Linked DNA regions of Homo sapiens: region 2 is linked to region 1. The links are contacts of gene promoters, found by promoter capture Hi-C in human tissues and cell types (Jung and others, 2019). All regions are on one chromosome and are shown on one strand. The core of a region is centred on a gene start or on the middle of the fragment in contact, and the rest is flanking DNA. Distances in the headings are between cores, read along the strand shown. Region 1 holds the start of LIMS2 (LIM zinc finger domain containing 2). Region 2 overlaps WDR33 (WD repeat domain 33).

The links. The method cuts DNA at HindIII sites, captures the fragments that hold promoters and counts their contacts. A contact is called where the count stands out against the background at its distance.
Region 2: a contact is called between a fragment that was not itself captured here and the fragment with the promoter of LIMS2 in region 1, in 2 of the 25 tissues and cell types used here (aorta and pancreas).

The regions. Positions count from the first base shown.
Region 1 is chr2:127,673,985-127,676,863 of GRCh38, reverse strand. It overlaps LIMS2 (LIM zinc finger domain containing 2), which reads left to right and starts at 1,334. Exons shown (of 10, transcript NM_001161403.3): 1 at 1,334-1,850. The coding sequence starts at 1,840. The HindIII fragment of the contact is 18,801 bases long and covers 1-2,879 here.
Region 2 is chr2:127,799,819-127,802,542 of GRCh38, reverse strand. All of the region lies in intron 1 of WDR33 (WD repeat domain 33), which reads left to right. Among named protein-coding and RNA genes, the nearest start is that of WDR33, 10 kb to the left of the region's middle. The HindIII fragment of the contact is 5,125 bases long and covers 1-2,724 here.

The DNA of each region.
Region 1 (2,879 bases), core at 85-2,584:
GATATTCAATTAACCGTCCAGCAGTGGATTTCTGGTGCACGGCCCCAGCATGCCTACACCTCTGTGTCAGTAATGGTGGAAAGCCTTTCTCCCTGTATGAGCAGGTGAGCCAAGAAATTATCCATACTTAAGCTTAATCAACCATCAAATTACAGTTAAGCCGAATCAGCTGAGACACGCTCGCAACAAGAAGTAATAACTCGAGACAGTCGGATCACCTGAGGCCAGGAGTTTGCAACCAGCCTGACCAACATGGTGAAACCCATCTCTATCAAAAATACAAAATTAGCTGGGTGTGGTGGCATATGCTTGTAATCCCAGCTACTTGGGAGGCTGAGGCAGGAGAATCGCTTGAACCTGGGAGGCGGAGGTTGCAGTGAGCGGAGATTGCACCATTGCACTCCAGCCTGGGCAATAAGAGCGAAACTCCGTCTCAAAAAAAAAAAAAAAAAAAAAGTAACAACTGCAAAGGCACTCCACAATACCAGCCACTTAGGAACAGGTGTCTTTTCCCAGCTTATTTCTGCAGGTGGAACTGCAGGATACTATCAACTCATCTTTCTGAACGGCACCAGTTTATTTGTGGGTTGCTAATTCACACCGTCATTTCTAGATCATCTTTCTCTGCTGCCAAGACCGGAGTAGCACCACATTTACACATCAGGCCGCCCAGCTCCCAAACCTCAGTGTGACATCTGGGCTGCTTCCAAAGATGAGCTGCACGCCACTGTCCAGCTGGAAATATCTGCCTTTAGGCAGGGCGGGGGTTTTTTGTTTTGTTTGTTTGAAAATTTCCTCCGAAGAGATTCCCTAAATAGTTTATATTACCCCTCCATCTTAACGCCTCTAATGGTAGCTTCTCAGCGCTTCATTATACAGAGGCGTGCCTGGTTCCCCTGGAAACCTGGGAGCTGGGCATTTGGTTTTGTCGTTTAAGAAATATCTTTCGCCAAGTTAGGGCGATGGCCCGCAACGGGGGATGAAATCGGAATTTCCCGGGGAAAGCAGCTTTGCGACTGAAGAGGGACGCCTCTCGGCTTTAGCCTCCCTGGGGGCGGGACTGCGTGGACTCGGCGGTCCCGGGTGCCTCGGGAGGGAGTCAGTGCCCAGATCCGCGGTGGGAACTCCGGGCTAGGAAAGCCCGGGAGGGAGGTGGTCTCAGCATCGCCCCCACGCCTACCATCTCCTGCACGCGTTTGCGGTTGGGGCGGCCCAGGGACTGCAGAGGGGGCGCCGGGCGGGGCGTCCCGGCGGGGCTGTGGGGGTGGGGGTGCTTGTTCGCGTTTATTATAACTTTACTCCCTTTAAAAGGAAAGCTATGCCCGGAATCCAGGAGGTGGCGAGCAGAGCCCGGGTTGGGAAGGACTTGACCCGCGCCCGCCGCTGGCCGCGCTCCGTGTCCCTGGAGCTGGGGCTGTGCGGGAGCGGGGCCCACCCTCTACCTTTACCCCTACTTTTACCCCCACTCCCACCCCCGCCTCACTCTCACCCCTCCAACCCCACCGTCAGCCCCACCTTTAACCCCCACCCCTCCAACCCTACCCGCCGCCACCCCCACCTGCCACCCCCACCCCCACCTATACTCCCGCAACCTCCCACCGTCACCTCCCCAACACCCCCACCACCCTCAGCCTTGACCTCCCCATCCCACCCCGCCCCGCGGGCCCCACCCTGCCACCCCCGCCCACCCCTCTCGCGGGCGGAGCGGCTCTTGGCCTTTTTTGGGCGTCTCCCTGCTCCGCGGCCCGGGCTGGCGGGCGGGCGCTCGGCTGGCGGCTGCAGCAGCAGAGGGAGACCCGCGGCAACCCCGGCAACCCAGGGCTCGGCGTCGCTGCCACCATGACGGGAAGGTAACGGCCCCCACCCACGCCCCCGGGCCGGGGAGGCGGGACTGCGGGACCCCTGGCCGAGGCGCAGCTCGCCCTCGTACAGCCCCGCGGCGCCACGATCCCCGCTCCGCCCTGGCGCGTCGGATTCTCGCAGCTGCCGGGGCGGCAGCGCCCGTCGGGGCAGGGGTCCCCCAGCCCCCGCGCCTCTTCCTCTGGGCGAGCGCCTGCAGCGGAAGGTGGAGCTCCTGCCCACCCGCCCGCTGCAAGATGGGACAGCCGTCTGCTCACAACCGACGCCCAGGGCTGCGGGAGGGGGTCTTGTCCAAGGTCAGACACCAACCACGGGCAAAAGGTTCAAAGGTTGCGTGCCTCCCCCAACTTCCCCGAGCCCGCGCTGTGCGATCCCCGATCCCGGTGAGTGTCATCTCTGGAGCCTTCCGTTTCCTCCTCTGTAAACCTGGGGTGGTAAAAATGTTAAAAATGTTGAAGGGTATGTTGGAACTTGGCCAGAGCTGCGCCCAAGCACCAGCTGTGCAGGGGTTGGTTGGGGACAGGGCGCTCCCCTGGGCCTGGCCCACCCTCTGCTCTCAGGCCCCTCGTTGCCATTTCACAGATGAGGTCACCAGAGGCCACAGAGGCTGAGCCACTCAGGAGGCCAGTCACAGGTCCACCAGTGTCCGGCCAGTGTTTGTCCCTGCAGCCCTTTCTGGAACCTAGCTGGGTACAAGTGCATGACTCAGGACTGGGTGGGAGGGGGCTGTCCCTGAGGCCCTGGTCTCCCCCAGCCAAGTCCTGGCAGGGGGATGCTGTTCTTCAGGATCCCATGACCTGGGGCTCTTGGGGAGCCCCAGCCCGGAGAGTGACCTGTGGCTTTGCTGGGGAAAGGGGCTTGGAGGGTACAGGGCAGTGTCCAGGATTGCAGTCTCAAATCCGAGGCCCACAGGGGAGCTGCCTCTGTGATCGCCATTAAGGCTGTGGCCTGGGGTCTCAGGGCAGCCCAGGAACCAAAAATAGCCTGTAACTTGTCACTTTGTAAGTCCTGCCCTCCAG
Region 2 (2,724 bases), core at 216-2,715, 130 kb before region 1:
TGGGAGGCCGAGGGGGGCAGATCACCTGGGGTCAGGAGTTTGAGACCAGCCTGGCCAACATGGTGAAACCCCATCTCTACTAAAAATACAAAAATTAGCCAGGCGTGGTGGCACATGCCTGTAATCCCAGCTACTCTGAAGGATGAGGCAGGAGAATTGCTTGCACCCAGGAGACGGAGGCTGAAGAAAAAGTAGTTAAGTCTTGCTTCTGTCTCTGAGCTCTGGAGTTCATTCCAGTTTTTACTGTGTATATTCTTATTTTCACATTCTTAGAAGAAAGTTGGCATGCTGTATATGCTTGTGACACTTGATTTTTTTTTTTATAAATTGTGATAAATGCATAGCAAAATTTTACTGTCTTAATTTTTTTTTTTTGAGTCGGAGTCTTGCTCTCTCCTCCAGGCTGGAGTGCAGTGGCGTGATCTCAGCTCACTCCTGGGTTCAAGTGATTCTCCTGCCTCAGCCTCCTGAGTAGCTGGGACTACAGGTGCATGCCACCACACCTGGCTAATTTTTGTATTTTTAGTAGAGACGGGGTTTTACCATGTTGGCCAGGGTGGTCTGGAATTCCTGACCTCAAGTGATCTGCCTGCCTCAGCCTCCCAAAGTGCTGGGATTACAAGCAGGAGCCACTGTGCCTGGCCTTAACCATTTTTTTTGAGATGGAGTCTCACTGTATCACCCAGGCAGGAGTGCAGTGGCACGATCTCGGCTCACTGCAGCATCCGTCTCCTGGGTTCAAACAATTATCCTGCCTCAGTCTCCCGAGTAGCTGGCACTACAGGTGTGCACCACCACGCCCAGCTAATTTTTTGTATTTTTAGTAGAGATGGGATTTCACCATGTTGGCTAGGCTGGTCTTGAACTCCTAACCTCAAGTGATGCACATGCCTCCGCTCCACAAAGTCCTGAGATAGGCATGAACCACTGCACCTGGCTCATAATGTAATTCTGTTTTTAACATTTTTGAAGAACCTCTATACTGTTTTTCATAGTGATTGTACTGTTTTTTTTTTTTTTGTTGTGTGTTTTTTGTTTGTTTGTTTGTTTTTTAGAGACAGAGTCTCACTGTGTTGCTCAGGCTGGTCTTCGCCTCAAAGTGATCCTCCCACCATGGCCTCCCAAAGTGCTAGGATTACAGGTGTGAGCCACCATGCCCAGCCTCATTGTACCATTTTACAGTCAGTACACAATGGTTCCAATTTCTTCATGTTCTTACCAACAGTTATTATTTTCTGTGTCTGTGTGTGTTTTTCCTCTGAGAAAAGGTCTCCTTCTGTTACCCCTGCTGGAGTACAGTGGTATAATCATAGCTCACTGTGCCTCAACGTCCCGGGCTCAAGCAAACCTCCTGCCTTAGCCTCCCGAGCGGCTGGGACAACAGGTGTATGTCACCATGCCTGGCTAATTTTGTTTTTCTTTTCTTTTTTTTTTTTTTCCTAGAGACAGGGTCTCACTATGTTGTCTGTCCTGGCTGGTCTCAAACTCCTGGGCTCCATCTTCCCACTTCGGCTTCCTGAAGTGCTGAGATTACAATAGGCATGAGCCACTATGCCCATCCTAAAGTTTTACAGCCCAATAATAGTAATATTCCATCACTACAGCTATCATTGAGTTTCAGAAGTTAGACTGTTAAAAGTTTCAGTAAAGAGCTTTAACCAGTTTATTGTGGCAATACTGTGTACACAATTATTTTTTGTAAAAGGAAGGAGATTTCTGTCTTAAATAGCTTTAATAAAGTTTCAGTTTCATATACAGGAATAGATTTAAATTAAAACTCAGGGCCAAGTACAGTTTACAGAAATAGGCTTTGTAAAGTCTATGGTTTTATTATTATTTTTTTCCCTCTGCAATTCCTTCATAACATTTGAATTTTTTTGCTTGTTGGTTTTTTTTTTTTTTTTTTGAGACGGAGTCTCATTATGTTGCCCAGGCTGGAGTGCAGTGATGCGATCTCAGCTCACTGCAAGCTCCGACTCCTGGGTTCATGCCATTCTCCTGCCTCAGCCTCTCGAGTAGTTGGGACTACAGGCGCCCTCCACCACGCCTGGCTAATTTTTTTGAATTTTTTTAACAGAGACGGGGTTTCACCATGTTAGCCAGGATGGTCTTGATCTCCTGACCTCATGATCCGCCTGCCGCGGCCTCCCAAAGTGCTGGGAGTACAGGCATGAGCCACTGCGCCCAGGCTTGCTTCTTGTTTTTAAGGAGAAAGATTATTTTTGTTAAGTGTTGATGGTGATTTGGGATCAGAAGCTGTAATTTTTATGATTCAGTTGATGGACATTAGGATTGTTTTCACTTTTTGATTATTATTAATAACGCTGCTGTAAACATTCACGTACAAATATTTGTGTGGACATAATGCTTTCAGTTCCCTTGGGAATTTACCTAGGCGTAGAATTGCTGGGTCACATGGTATTTTGACATTTAACATTTGAGGAAATTCTTGACTATTTTCCCACCTAATTTTCAGTTTATTTTATGCCTAACAACCACTATTCTTTTGTAATCCAGATGGACTTCTCATGAGGGTTACTGTTTCTCCACATTCTCACTAACACTTCTTATTTTCCCTCTTTTTGACCATAGCCATCCCAGTGGATGTGAAGTGTTATCTAATTGTGGTATTCATTTATTTATATATTTTAGAGACGGGGTCTCACTCTGTTGCCCAGGCAGGAGTGCAGGTGTGATCACAGTGCACTGCAGCCTCGAACTCTT